4 separate regions of the Homo sapiens genome follow, and regions 2, 3 and 4 are each linked to region 1. The links are contacts of gene promoters, found by promoter capture Hi-C in human tissues and cell types (Jung and others, 2019). All regions are on one chromosome and are shown on one strand. Each heading gives the region's core, a stretch centred on a gene start or on the middle of the fragment in contact. The rest is flanking DNA. Distances are from core to core; before and after follow the strand shown. Region 1 holds the start of MIXL1 (Mix paired-like homeobox). Region 2 has its middle 49 kb from the start of PARP1. Region 3 overlaps PARP1 (poly(ADP-ribose) polymerase 1). Region 4 overlaps H3-3A (H3.3 histone A).

The links. The method cuts DNA at HindIII sites, captures the fragments that hold promoters and counts their contacts. A contact is called where the count stands out against the background at its distance.
Region 2: a fragment that was not itself captured here is called in contact with the fragment with the promoter of MIXL1 in region 1 in 2 of the 25 tissues and cell types used here (mesendoderm cells and thymus).
Region 3: a contact is called between a fragment that was not itself captured here and the fragment with the promoter of MIXL1 in region 1, in 4 of the 25 tissues and cell types used here (H1 embryonic stem cells, lymphoblastoid cells, pancreas and 1 more).
Region 4: a contact is called between a fragment that was not itself captured here and the fragment with the promoter of MIXL1 in region 1, in 1 of the 25 tissues and cell types used here (liver).

Annotation. Positions count from the first base shown.
Region 1 is chr1:226,222,232-226,225,577 of GRCh38, reverse strand. MIXL1 (Mix paired-like homeobox) reads right to left here and starts at 1,914. Exons shown (of 2, transcript NM_031944.3): 1 at 1,504-1,914; 2 at 1-71. The coding sequence starts at 1,896. LOC124904528 (a long non-coding RNA gene) reads right to left here. Exons shown (of 2, transcript XR_007066907.1): 2 at 3,080-3,239. RefSeq lists a silencer at 1,196-1,490 and an enhancer at 1,536-1,595. The HindIII fragment of the contact is 15,954 bases long and covers 1-3,346 here.
Region 2 is chr1:226,357,080-226,360,197 of GRCh38, reverse strand. No RefSeq gene overlaps it. Among named protein-coding and RNA genes, the nearest start is that of PARP1, 49 kb to the left of the region's middle. The HindIII fragment of the contact is 5,424 bases long and covers 1-3,118 here.
Region 3 is chr1:226,402,362-226,405,590 of GRCh38, reverse strand. PARP1 (poly(ADP-ribose) polymerase 1) reads left to right here. Exons shown (of 23, transcript NM_001618.4): 2 at 3,212-3,229. Among named protein-coding and RNA genes, the nearest start is that of PARP1, 4.1 kb to the left of the region's middle. RefSeq lists a cis regulatory region at 2,049 and enhancers at 1,977-2,121, 1,762-2,663. The HindIII fragment of the contact is 5,776 bases long and covers 1-3,229 here.
Region 4 is chr1:226,069,941-226,073,282 of GRCh38, reverse strand. It overlaps H3-3A (H3.3 histone A), which reads right to left. Exons shown (of 4, transcript NM_002107.7): 4 at 1,264-1,932. The coding sequence ends at 1,804. Among named protein-coding and RNA genes, the nearest start is that of H3-3A, 8.9 kb to the right of the region's middle. The HindIII fragment of the contact is 4,533 bases long and covers 1-3,342 here.

The DNA of each region.
Region 1 (3,346 bases), core at 665-3,164:
GGCCTAGCCAAAGGTTGGAAGGATTTCCCACTCTGACGCCGAGACTTGGCACGCCTGTTCTGGAACCATACCTGGAAGAGGGGAGAAAATAAAAGCTGCTTTTGGTTGGAGTTTTTTATGCTAACATTATGTTCACAGTTCATACTGGTAAGTTCCAGTTTAACATCCCCTGGCTTCCTCTCCAGAGCCTTGTCTTCAGAAAGCACTTGGGTTGACGATTAGAAGTTCAGAACACCTGGCTTTCCTTGCCTCCCCATTCCCAGATGGAAACATTGGAATAATGCCTAGTTCTATCTACTCTTTAGTTAGAGAAATTTTCATGAAAAATGGGGTCACAAAAATGGAAGCACTTAGAATTCTTAGAAAAAAACTGCATTAAATTATGAAGAAAACCTGTTTTTTAAGGTCTGCACTCCCTTGTCAAACTAATCAAGGAGGTATTTTGCTCATGCCAGCTGTTGAGACTGACAGCTGTATGACCGCCAGGGGTGCAGAGAAAACAAGTCCACTCTCCCAGTGTTTAAATGAGGGCTGCTACTTAAAACTGCGCTTGGACACCGACCACGGGGCTACAGACAGACAAAAAGGCAGGCTTCTCCTTACCAACTCTAAGATTCTGATCTAAATTACTTTAGATAATAAACACGGCCGGGCGCGGTGGCTCACGCCTGTAATCCCAGCACTTTGAGGCGGGTGGATCACCTGAGGTCAGGAGTTCGAAACCAGCCTGACCAACATGGTAAAACCCCGTCTCTACTAAAAATACAAAAATTAGCTGGGCGTGGTGGCTGGCGCCTGTAATCTCAGCTACTCGGGAGGCTGAGGCAGGAGAATCACTTGAACCTGGGAGGCGGAGGTTGCAGTGAGCCCAGATCGCGCCATTGCACTCCAGCCTGGGCAACAAGAGTTAAAACTCCATCTCAAATAAAAACTAAATAAATAAAAATAAACACACCTTGCACTAGATTTTTCAAACTGAAAACAAGCTCCAGGTGCTTCTCGCTTTATCTCAATTCGCTACATCCTTTCAAATCTAATCCCAAAACGTAACACTTGCCAAGAAAGTAGCATGGGGGTAACTTGGCGAGCCAGCCTTCCCCGTTTTCAGCTACCATTCTCACGCTCAAAGCCAGAGGAAAACCCCAACTGCCCCTCATCTGTGTCTTCTTCCCGGATAAAGAAAAAGTGTAAAACTTCTTATCTTCCTGCTGGGAATTACTTTCTGGCCATTTCAGGGGACCGGCTAGCCTCCTAGGAGCCCTTATTATATTTAATAATGAGAGAAATCGTTCAGTGCAGGCCTAAATTATTTCACACAGGCCTCGCAACCACCCTATGCAGCAGGTGCCGATATCACCCCCTATTTCAGTCTAGTACGCAGAGCCTCAGGGGAAGCACCGTGCCTGCAACGTCCCGGGTGTGGCCTCAGGAGCCCGCAGTCCAGACCTAGAGTCCGCAGCGCCTCCGCTCCAGCGCGCACTTGCGAACGCAGCGGGCCCTCACCTGGATCCTGGACTCGGGGAGCAGGGTGAGCGCGGCCAGGCGCTCGCGCAAGTGGATGTCGGGGTACCGGGTCCGGCGGAAGACGAGCTCCAGCAGCTGCAGCTGTTCGGCGCTGAAAGACGTGCGCTTGCGGCGCTGCGACGCCGACGGGGCGGCCGCGCCTTTGGGGGGCGCAGGCGAGCCCAGGCTGGCGGGGGGCGGCGGGGCCGGCCCGGGGTCCCGGCCGAGGAAGCCCGCAAAGGTCGCTGGGCCGGGGCCCGCGGGCGGCGCAGGGAGCAGGGCTGCCGCAGGGCTCGGGGGCGGCAGGAGCGCCCCGCCGGCGTGGGGGGCCCGGTACGCTGGAAACGCGGCGCCCTCGGCAAACTGGAGCGCACGGGACTCGGCTGTGGCCATCGCTCCGGAACCCAGCGCGCCGCTCGGAGGGGCGCGGGCCGCACTTATACCCTCCCGGGCCAGGGGCTGGGAAGGCGGGGCGGTGCGATCAAAGGTGGGCTCGGGGAGACCCGTGTCTCCTCCGGGTGCGAGCCCGCCCCCGGCCCCGCCAGACGCCGGGGAATAATCGCTTCCGCCGGCTGCGGGATGCAGGAGGGAGGCGTGAACTTGGGTCCCGGCCCCCTCCGTGTTCTTCCCCGCCCACCCGCCCGGACGGCGCAATCCACATCCCCGAAGGACTATTTGCCTGGGAGGGGCAGCCCGGAGGGGCCCGGGTGCGCGGGCCGCAGGCGACAGAACTCTCTTCTCCGGGTCAAATCCCCGTTAAGAGCGGCGGAAGCACCTTGCCTGGCCTGTGCCTTACATGGCCTGGGCCTTGAGCCTTGCCCTAGTCCCGTCTGTCCTCATCAAAGCTATTTATTTACCACCCCTGCTATGTGCTAGACCCTGTACCAGGTTGGTCAAACAGCCCGGCCCCTGTCTTCTGCAAGCCTCCCTAACACATCCTGAATCCAAGCGGGGAGGGGGGTGAAGATAAAGGATCCAGGGGGCAGCACATTCCTCCTGATTAAATGGGTGGGGGGAGTGGGGGGGTCTGGCTGGAATGTCCATGGGCCCACCAATAAAGATACCCTAGGTAGGGCGGGGTTGGCAACGTGCCCCATTAGCAGAGGATACGGCGCAGTTTGGCCTTTCTGGAGATACTCAACAATGCTTAAGACCCGTCTATTGGATGGGAGGAGATGAAAGCCACCTCATGAAGTTTCCACGCGCCCTGAATCATCATTCTTTCCTCTGCCCCTTGGGGCTCTGAAAGCTCCCATTTTCTCTACTTTGTGCTATGGTTATGGTTTCTCTATCTGCTAGATATAAAGTCTTAGCAAGCAGGAACCCACCTCTCCCTTTCTGAGTTTATTGAGTGTCTGCTTTGTACACCTATTCTGCGTGAGGCGCGGTGCTAGGCCCCTTAGTGAATGTCTGTCGAATTGGATGTCACTGAGCTCTCCTTATTGAAAGAGAAACCCATGGTCCACTATGGGAACTGCCCCACCACAGTGCAAGAACTCAAGAGAGGAACACAGAGGCCCAGGTCTTTTTGCCCCCAGCACCTGAGCGCTGATTTCACCGGGATCACTCACTGTGGTCGACTCAAAGGGAGATCTTTATTGGGAGGATCTTTCAGGGCACAATCCCCGTCCTGTCTCTGCATTCTAGAAGGTCAAAAGACAGTCTCAGAAGAGCTTGGATCTTTTTATCCTGGGTGGACATTCCAGGTGGCAAAGCGGAAAGTTTTCTTGGAGCTGCTGCAGAGAAGAATTTTGGGCTTGATTCTCTCCTGGCTGTGGTAAGGGGTGGGGTTGGCAGGGACTGTGTCCTGTGTAGCCCCTGAGGCCCTTCTGGGCAGCTGATA
Region 2 (3,118 bases), core at 310-2,809, 130 kb before region 1:
ACCCTCTCTCCTGATCATCCAGCAATCCAGGCTGTTCGGCTCTTGGGCTCCTGAGTATTCTGCACTCTTTACCTTTTTTTTTAATCAGCACAGAGAAAGGCAATTACCCTCACAGTACCTGATGAAATAAGTATTTTTAGGTTGGAGTGATTACTTAGTGAGTTCCCTGTAATCAAAACTGGTTTCTTTTTTTAAGGAAGATTCACATTTCTCAATCTATTTTCCTTTCAAAAGAGAGAAATTAGCACTTTATGTTTTAGTATACACATTCTGCTTTTCTCCCTTCACTTTAAAAAAATTCAAGTCCTGGCCGGATGCAGTGGCTAACACCTGTAATCCCAACATTTTGGGAGGCCAAGGCGGGCGGTTCACGAGGTCAGGAGATGGAGACCATCTTCGCCAACTGGTAAAATTTCATCTCTACTAAAAATACAAAAATTAGCTAGACATGGTGGCGCTCACCTGGAATCCCAGCTACTCAGGAGGCTGAGGCAGGAGAGTCGCTTGAACCCGGGAGTCAGAGGTTGCAGTGAGCTGAGATCATGTGTGGCAACAGAGCAAGACTCCGGTCTCAAAAAAAAAATTCAAGTCCTATCTCAGGGTAGCAACTAAAATGTGAGAATTTCGTTTAAAAATTAAAGCCAACCGTGAACCTGGGGTTGGAGCCTGCAGTGAGCCGAGATCGCGCCACTGCACTCCAGCCTGGGCAACACAGCGAGACTCCGTCTCAAAAAAAAAAAAAAAAATTAAAGCCAACCTTGCATAGAAACTCGGGGTGCTCCATGAGAGAAGAGAGAGGTATAGCCCTCTGCCCCTCCTGGTGAGCTGCCCTCCTCCCGCCTTTGTGCCTGGAAGTGCCCTTGGCCAACAGTAGTTGCCCAAGGCAGTACTGGGCTCACATGTCAGAGCACACTGTTGCACACAGTGGTGCATGCATACATCTATAAAAGATGCGCTGCGTACACAGTAGTGTTTTAGCCAATGTGCTAGCCAATGAATTCTGCATCAGTGGTTATCTCTTGCTACACAAGAGGTGAAGAACCATTCCTTCAAGCGTCCCAGAGCTCTAAGGCGAAGCTGCTATAGAATGATTTGCCTAGAACTTTGCCTTAGGGCAAACCTCAAGTACTGCTTTTAGGAATGAAATCTAATGGTGGCCTTGTCCCTGGTGCGGGCATAGTATGTACTCAGTGTTAATTGTTTACACCAAAAGCCTGGAAGCTGCATTGTCTTTTGGCCTTCAGAAACCTTGTATCTTAACTGTTAAGATCTGAACATTGGGAATCATTCACCTCTGACCTGTTGGGCTGGTTTTATTCCGCTCTATAAAGTACACCCAGGTGCTTTAGGAGTTCGCATTTCTCAAAGTGGTGTCATTGCCTTTCCCTTAAATTCTGTTTTGACTCCTCAGAGATTGGTGGTTGCTTTTTTGAGGCATAGTGTTTCCACCATTTCATCAGGCAGGGCCTGCCAAATTGAGTCTAAGTTGAGGCCATTGAGGTTTAGGGAGGTCTGATACAGTGCTTAGCATCCCACTGCCCCCTCACTTCTGCCATTCAGCCTCAGCATGGAAGGTTAGATGGCAGCTTCCCTTTGGCATGTGCCAAATATGCCCATTTGTATGGCTTAAGAGGTCAATGTTGGTTTTCTCATTTCTCTTTACTGTTCTCTAGAGCAGGTCATCTAGGTTATAAGATATATTTTGGAGACTTCAAAAGTAAAGAAAATGTGGCCTGTAAACACCTTCCTCCTCAGCGAATTAGCCCTTATGTGAAAAATGTTGCCCACTGGACTAGGGAACAGTGCTGGTAATAGGGACAGCTGGTGTGCGTCCTATGGGCCATGTGGACTCAGAGCACTCAATGCCACCCACCACTGTGGCATTCTGTATAGCTTTGCTTCTGATCAGCGACCTCATTCTACAGCACAGAGTTCAGCATCAGGCTTGTACTTAGAATTAACTGGTTTTGCCACATGCCCCATCACCCAGAAATGACCTAAATGAAGAGTAGAATGGCTCATGATGGTGCCAGTTGTGAGACAGCGTCCTGAAGGGATGGGGTTTCATCTTACGGATGCAGTAGAGGCTTGAAATCAGAGACCAACCTGGTGTCTCCCCCCCGGCCAAAGCACATGGGTCTGGGAACCAGTGGGTGAGGTGGGAGTAGTTCCTCTTGCTGTCACCACATCTGATATCCCCTCACAGGGCTTGTGTTTGGAGGTCTTAGTCCCTAAGGGAGAGATGCTTCTAGCGGACAACACAATTATGGTTTCATCGACTTAGAAGATGAGGCTACCATATGGCTGTTTGGGGCTCCTTGTACCACTGCAGCAATGTGCAGAGGAGGGGGTGACCTTGCTGGCAGAAGGGACTGATCCTGATTACCAAGGGGAAAGTGGGATGCTGCACAGGGAGGCAAGCAGGACTATGTCTAGAGCCCAGGAGATTCTCGGGAGGGCTTTAGTGCCACCATGTCCAGTGGTAAAGGCAAGGGGAAGTACAGCAACCAAAAACACTGCAACTCCAAAAAATGACAGCACTGTGGAAAATTCAGACCCTTCAGGAACGAAGGCTTGGGTCACTCTAGTCAACAGGTTCTGGCTGAGGGCAAAGGAAGTAAGGAATGGGTGCTAGAAGGAATGTCACAGATGTCCACTATGGCTTCATGACCAATTACAGAAAAAAAGACCAAAGCAGCCAGTTAGAGGGGCAGAGACATTGCAGGTTTTAGGGGGTTTTGTTGTTGTGTTTTGGGGTTTTTTGAAACAGAGTCTCACTCTGTTGCCCAGGCCAAATTGGAGTGCAGTGGCGCCATCTCAGCTCACTGCAACCTCCACCTCCCTACAACTTCTGCCTCCCGGGTTCAGGGGATTCTCCCGCCACAGCCTCCCTAGTAGCTGGGATTACAGGCACACACCACCACGCCCTGCTAATTTTTGTGTTTTTAGTAGAGATGGGGTTTCACCATGTTGGCCAGGCTGGCCTCAAACTCCTGGCCTCAAGTGATCCACCTGCCTCGGCCTCTCAAAGTGCTGGGATTATAGGTATGAGCCACTCCACCCGGCTGAGACGCTGCAGTTTTAAGCCACAGAACAAGTCTAGCCTGAGTGTAGGGTT
Region 3 (3,229 bases), core at 504-3,003, 180 kb before region 1:
CGCATGCTTGTAATCTCAGCACTTTGGGAGGCTGGGGTGGGCAGATTACTTAAGCTCAGCAGTTTGAGACCAGCCTGGCCAACATGGTGAAACCTGTCTCTACAAAAAAATGCAATGATTAGCGGGTCGTGGTGGTGCGTGCCTGTTAAGTCCCAGCTACTCCGGAGGCTGAAGCTGGAAGATTGCTTGAGCCTGGGAGGTGGAGGTTGCAGTGAGCTGAGATAGTGCCACTGCACTCCAGCCTGGGCGACAGACCCAGACCCAGACCCAGACCCTGTCTGAAAAAAAAAATAGTAATAACAACATTCTGGGCTTTCCTTTGGTATACTTGATAGTGAAAGAAACTCTTTATTATTAAAAGTAACTGTGATTTTTATGTAATGGTGATTAAGGGTGGATTCAGAGTTTTAATTCAGAATTTAAAGTTGGTCTGGTAGACTGAGCTGGTGAAGGCCAAAAAGAAAGAAGCCTTTTCACTTGCTTGAATTTAAATACCTTCTTTTACATTTACATGGGAGTATTGTTCTCTGAGTATCTGATACCTGACACTTTAGCCCTCATGCCTGGGGCATCTTGGGAGGGATGAGCTGGGCCCTCCAGCATTTTGGTGGGAGGAGGATGGCGGTAGACCTTTGAGTTGCTCTGTCCTGGGAGGGTTTGAGCACCCGGAGGCATGCAGTGAGGTCAGTTCATTCTCTCTGTGGCCTAGGTGGACAGGTAGCATGGCCTGTTCTGCACAGAAGGGAACCCAGTTCACCAGCTGCTGGTTGGGTGAGGACCCTGGTATGTTAGGTGCTCAGTTTTTGCTTGGGTGCACAGCCAAAGATTCTGTGCCTTGCCTCAGCTGTGCAGCTAACAAATGGAGTCGATAGTCTTGTGACCTTGGTTTGGTGCCTTTCTGCCACATCATTCTCAGTCCTGAGTTTAGGGCAAAGCATTGCTTTGGTCAGGGGTGCTTCTGCTGAGGCTCTTGTCCTCTAAGCTTGTGCTGTGATTGCACCATTGGGCAGCACCTCCAGGGTGTCCAGCACTGTGCCGGTGGTTGGGGGAGACAGCACCCAGACCAAAGGGCAGCAGGTCTGGGGCCCCTGGCAGAGCCAGGAAGAAGTGCCATAGCCATTACCTGTGCTCTTTATACAAGGGTAACTGGAACATTGCACAGGAAGGGTAGACAAGGGGTAGACAAGCAGGCAGAGCCAGGTCGAGGCCATTGCAAATATTCCATGATAGCCAGATGCTTAGGGATCTGTATCAGCAGCCTAATTGAGATCTGGTGGAACGTTTGAGAGTTGGAACATGAGTATGCTCTCAGAAATGCCATTTGTTGTCTCTTCTACAGCAGGAATTTCCCCATCCTTCCTTTTTTGTTCCATCTGACTTGGAGCCCTAAGCAAACACTGCGTGCCCTCTGTGACATGTTGCTAGAGAATAGCAAGATAGGCCCTTATGAAATAATCACCAAATGCATAGTTCTTAGTGAGGGGAGCTGTGGAAGGAGCATTGGGAGATCTGAGGGAGTGCTCTGAACAGGGCTGGAGAGCATTCCAGACCCAGGGGAAAGCTGATGTTGAGGAGTCCTTGTGCTGCCATAGTCTTAGCTGTGCATTTTAATACATCACATCCAGAAAGAGGCCACTCACAGTGGAGAGAGATAGTGGGGTACCTTATCATTGCTTTTCCAGAGTATTTTCCCTGTCCCCGCAACTCCATCCTAAAAATTCAGCACATTTACTTTTAATGCTGTTTTAATAGTCTTATTGCATCTGTGTGACATTTAGCTTTATGTTCTATAAAAGCAGATGTTTGGGACTTCCCTTACTTTAGTCAGATCACAGTTGGTGTATTTTTAAGTAGCTCTTCCTGCCGGGCAGTGGAGTGTGGTGGGAGGAATCATAGTGTCAAATCATTCATTTGCTGCCTCTGTGACTCCCAACCCCCCAGGCAAGGATTTCCAGCCCCACTGTCTCCATCTGTGAATGAAAGGGCTGGTTCCCACCCAGAGGCAGATTGTGGGATTACACAGGATGGCTTATGAAAGGAGCAGGGACACACACTACATACTGTGTCTTCCCCTTCTTCCCAATCGCTGTCACCGTCCACTCTGTAAAGCCAGGACTGGGTGCAGTGGTTCATGCCTGTAATCCCAGCACTTCGGGAAGCCGAGGCGGGCGGGTCACGAGGTCAGAAGTTCGAGACCAGCCTGGCCAACATGGTGAAGCCCCATTGCTACTAACAATACAAAAATTAGCCAGGCATGGGTGGCACGTGCCTGTAGTCCCAGCTACTCAGGAGGCCGAGGCAGGAGAATCGCTTGAACCCAGGAGACAGAGGTTGCAGTGAGCTGAGATCGCACCACTGCACTCAGTGCAAGACTCGGTCTCAAAAACAAAGCCAGACAGTGCTCGAGGCCTGGGAGCAGAACCTGACCCTGTCACAATGAAAGGCCTAGTGGGAAGCAAACCACCTGGAGAGGGGAACTGTGTTCCCTGTGGCCAGACTTCTCAGGTCCTACGCCTGGGAAACTGCGCCCCAGAAGGCCAGTGAGCAGCTGACTCCAGCTCTAGGCATGCTGCCCCGAACCATCCGCTGTCACAGTTGCCTCAAAGACCTCCATTCATTCCACTCCCATCTGTGTGGCTGCTGCAAGCTTGACACTTTTTTCTGACACACTTTCTCTGCTTTGCTCATTATCTGGGACTTGTTCCTTGTTATTCTTAACTGCAGAGGCACTTAAAGAGCCCTTTTCTGGGGCACACAGGCCCTTTGAGTCCAGGCAAGCCTGGAGCAGTTGTCTGGCCATTCCCAGCAGATGCTGCAGGATTGTGACTCTGCACAAGTGTCTTCTGTGCATTTCACTAGGCCATGAGGCAGCTCACCACTAAATGTAGCAGTGTGTGGTCAAAAGGGACGTGGGGCAGAGCTCAGTGGTAAAAGGCCACCTTTCTCGTGGCTGTGTTTGGTGTCCTAAGAGAATGAGCTCAAGAACAGTGGGCTACAGTCTTCTGACCCTTGGGGAAGATCGTGAGAAGGATGCTGCAGCTCTTCATGTGAGAGCGGAGGCTGTCCTCCTTTCACAGATAGGAGAACAAAAGTTTCATGTGCTATCCCACTGCTGGGGCTGGGACTGGGGTCGAGGTCAAGGTCAAGGTCTAGTGGGTCTAAGTCAAAAGTTAACTGCTTACTTACTTCCCTCTGTTTCTCTTCCTTCTAGTCGCCCATGTTTGATGGA
Region 4 (3,342 bases), core at 494-2,993, 150 kb after region 1:
ATAAGAATACATGCCCAATATTAACATAGCATTGTATGAGACAATTCAATAAATTGACCAGACATTTGTGTACATACGTTGAGTGCCAAGTTTATCTTTGTGCTTTTTTCTATCTGGCTCATTTTATAATGTACAACTTACTGTATTATACCTGGACAGTGAGCACATAGTACTAAATATTTGTTTAAACATTGAAATTATGTTTAAAAAAAGAATTGTTAACAACCACTTCATGGGGCAATAAAAAATGTACTTTTAGAGCATTAAAACTTTTCGAGATTTTAGGATTCCAAGAACTCAAAGGACTGTATTGTCTACTTGTAAATAACTGGTCTTTATCAGATTCCAGCAGGTAACATTAACTTCCTCCCTTACTGGAGACACCTTTTTCTTCTGAAGTGTTTCATGAAAAGGCCATTTGGTCTTTTGCACTGAAAAACTGGATTGAACAGAGAACATTCAACTACAATTGGCTTTTAGTAACTTATATTGAGAAAGTTCCAAGTGTTACCCGTACTTCCCTGTAGAAGTACATGCAAAAGATCATACTGAAAACTAGGATGCATGCTAACAAAATCAGCCTCTTAAAGTAATTAATTCTCCCATTAAAGAATTTTATAGTCACCTATAGTCAAAAGATTAAGTTATGGCTAAATGTTTAAGAGCAGTAAGAATGCAAGCCCAGTGTCGTATCTTACTGACATGCGTCTATTCTTGGCATAGTTATTAACATTTCGTATCACTTCTAGGGCAGTTTCAAACACTCAAACGTTACAACTAATGGGATGTGTTAAAAGTCTTAGAAGGTTTAATTATCCTCATTTCACATTAATTGTACCAACACTAAATAAAACAGGGCTAAGAATTAACTATTAGTGCTTGAATAAATTCAGGGTTAACTAATAGAGCATCTTAAAATAGCCAGATCTTGAATGCATTAATTTTTGAGCTAAAGACTGTTACACACTCTCATTTGTTATTAAACATTCATGAAAGTTCAATCTACTTACAGATTCCACTATTTCCAGGTGATCCTGTTGATTAGCTTTTCGAATTATTGGTTCAGAAGACAACACATCCAAAGAGTTAAGACCACTGGGTAGTGGCAAGCTTCTAAAAATTAGAAATAAAGCCAAGTTCCTTTTGCCACCAAGTCTATACTTTCCTTCTCTCTCAATAAGTCTCACGTCTCAGATATAAAGTGACTATTAAAGGACTTAATACTGAAATTATTTGGAATATAATTGTAGGGCAAGGCTATAATAAAGACCAAAAGCAGGTATAGTTTAATGTATTTTAATAGCAAACTTACAGGAACAGCACAGAAGACAGACAACATTAAAAACATGTACTTGCATGTAGGACAACTCAGTTAGAAAAGTATAGTGAATGGATGGAATCTACTGTATGATAAAAATGCTACAAACACCATTTAGTTGCCATCAATAAGAAATTTACTTGTTTTAAAAAAATCCAAATGCTGGCATTGTCCAGAAAAATTTAACAGGTTTATTTATAATTATTATAAAGTTGAACCGCTGAAACTTGTTCACTGAAACATTTTAACTTGCATTAATGCTTTACGTCTCCGCATTTATATTAAAAATTCACACACAAATGAAAATGGAAAAACTGCCAATACCTGATTTCTGTCCCCTATTTTTCCACTCGCAATCATATACTTAGGTACCTTTTGACCCCATGGAAAAAAAATATCTAACGTTCAGAACTACCAATAACAGGAAGAAGAGAAATTTTTTTTTTTTTTTTTGAGAATGAAATGTTTCCCATCATAGTGGATTCTTAAGCACGTTCTCCACGTATGCGGCGTGCTAGCTGGATGTCTTTTGGCATAATTGTTACACGTTTGGCATGGATAGCACACAGGTTGGTGTCTTCAAAAAGGCCAACCAGATAGGCCTCACTTGCCTCCTGCAAAAGGAATGAAGAAAAAATTACTGATGATGTTATTTCCAATAGTTAAGACCCAACTATACGAATTAAAACAAAAAGGTTTTTGAACCCTTTAAAAAAATGACTGGGCAAGATGCTGACAATTTTACCAAATGCTTACATTTTACAACCTGTGGGACAAAGCTCAAAAGCAGCTTATGAAAAAAAACAAAAGCTTAAGTCAGTAAATCTTTTATCAAGTTACACAAATCAAATTACTTTGTTACTAGGAAACTTCAATTTTTCTAATGGTAACATGATTTCTAATAAACTGAAATGTCACAAATAAAGCAAGAAATCCAATTTAACACTCTCATTCTTATAAACGCAATCATGTCCAATCCAAATACCCCATCCCAGCCTAGTCTCCTCCTCACTCTGAATCCCATTCACACAGTATGTGAACCTCTGCCTTGTCCAGTAGTATAACATGGTGAACAAGTGGTTTTTATCACATGCTTCTCATCTATGTTCCCTTTCATACCTGTTTTATCATAAGAGTACTTTTGATTCCAGAACATATCACAAGTTAGTTCCGTATTTCTTTCTTTCTTTCTGAGATGGAGTCTTACTCTGTCGCCCAGGCTGGAGTGCAGTAGCGCGATCTCGGCTCACTGCAACCTCCACCTCCCGGATTCAAGCGATTCTCCTGCCTCAGCCTCCCGAGTAGCTGGGACTACAGGTATGCGCCACCATGCCTGGCTACTTTTTTGTATTTTTAGTAGAGAAGGGGTTTCACCATGTTGGTCAGGCTGGTCTCGAACTCCTGACCTCGTGATCCACCCACCTTGGCCTCCCAAAGTGCTGGGATTATAGGCGTGAGCCACCGCGCCCGGCAGTTCCTTATTTATTTATTTTGAGACGGAGTCTCTCTTTGTTGCCCAGGCTGGAGTGCAGTGGCAAGATCTCAGCTCACTGCAAGCTCCACCTCCCAGGTTCATGTCATTCTCCTGCCTCAGCCTCCCGAGTAGCTCGGGCTACAGGCGCCCACCACCACGCCTGACTAATTTTCAGTAGAGATGGGGCTTCATTGTGTTAGCTAGGATGGTCTCGATCTCCTGACCTCGTGATCCTCCTGCCTCGGCCTCCCAAAGTGCTGGGATTACAGGAGTGAGCCACCGCAACTGGCCTGGCAGTTCCTTATTTATATACTTTGATCTATGCCCCGGAAACATGCCCCTGTCCTCTACCAAGTACCTTCCTCTACGTACCCCAATTTGTAACAGCATTTGTTGCCCTCTAGTACTAGTATCGATTTCTCTGGTTTTTCCCATTTGACTGTAAGATCCTTTCAAGTTATCTTATTCCTACTACCACTTAAAAATGACAGTGTATGAATCACTCATTGACACTTAACTTGTGAAGAGGAAAAAGGGGCGTTTCCACTTA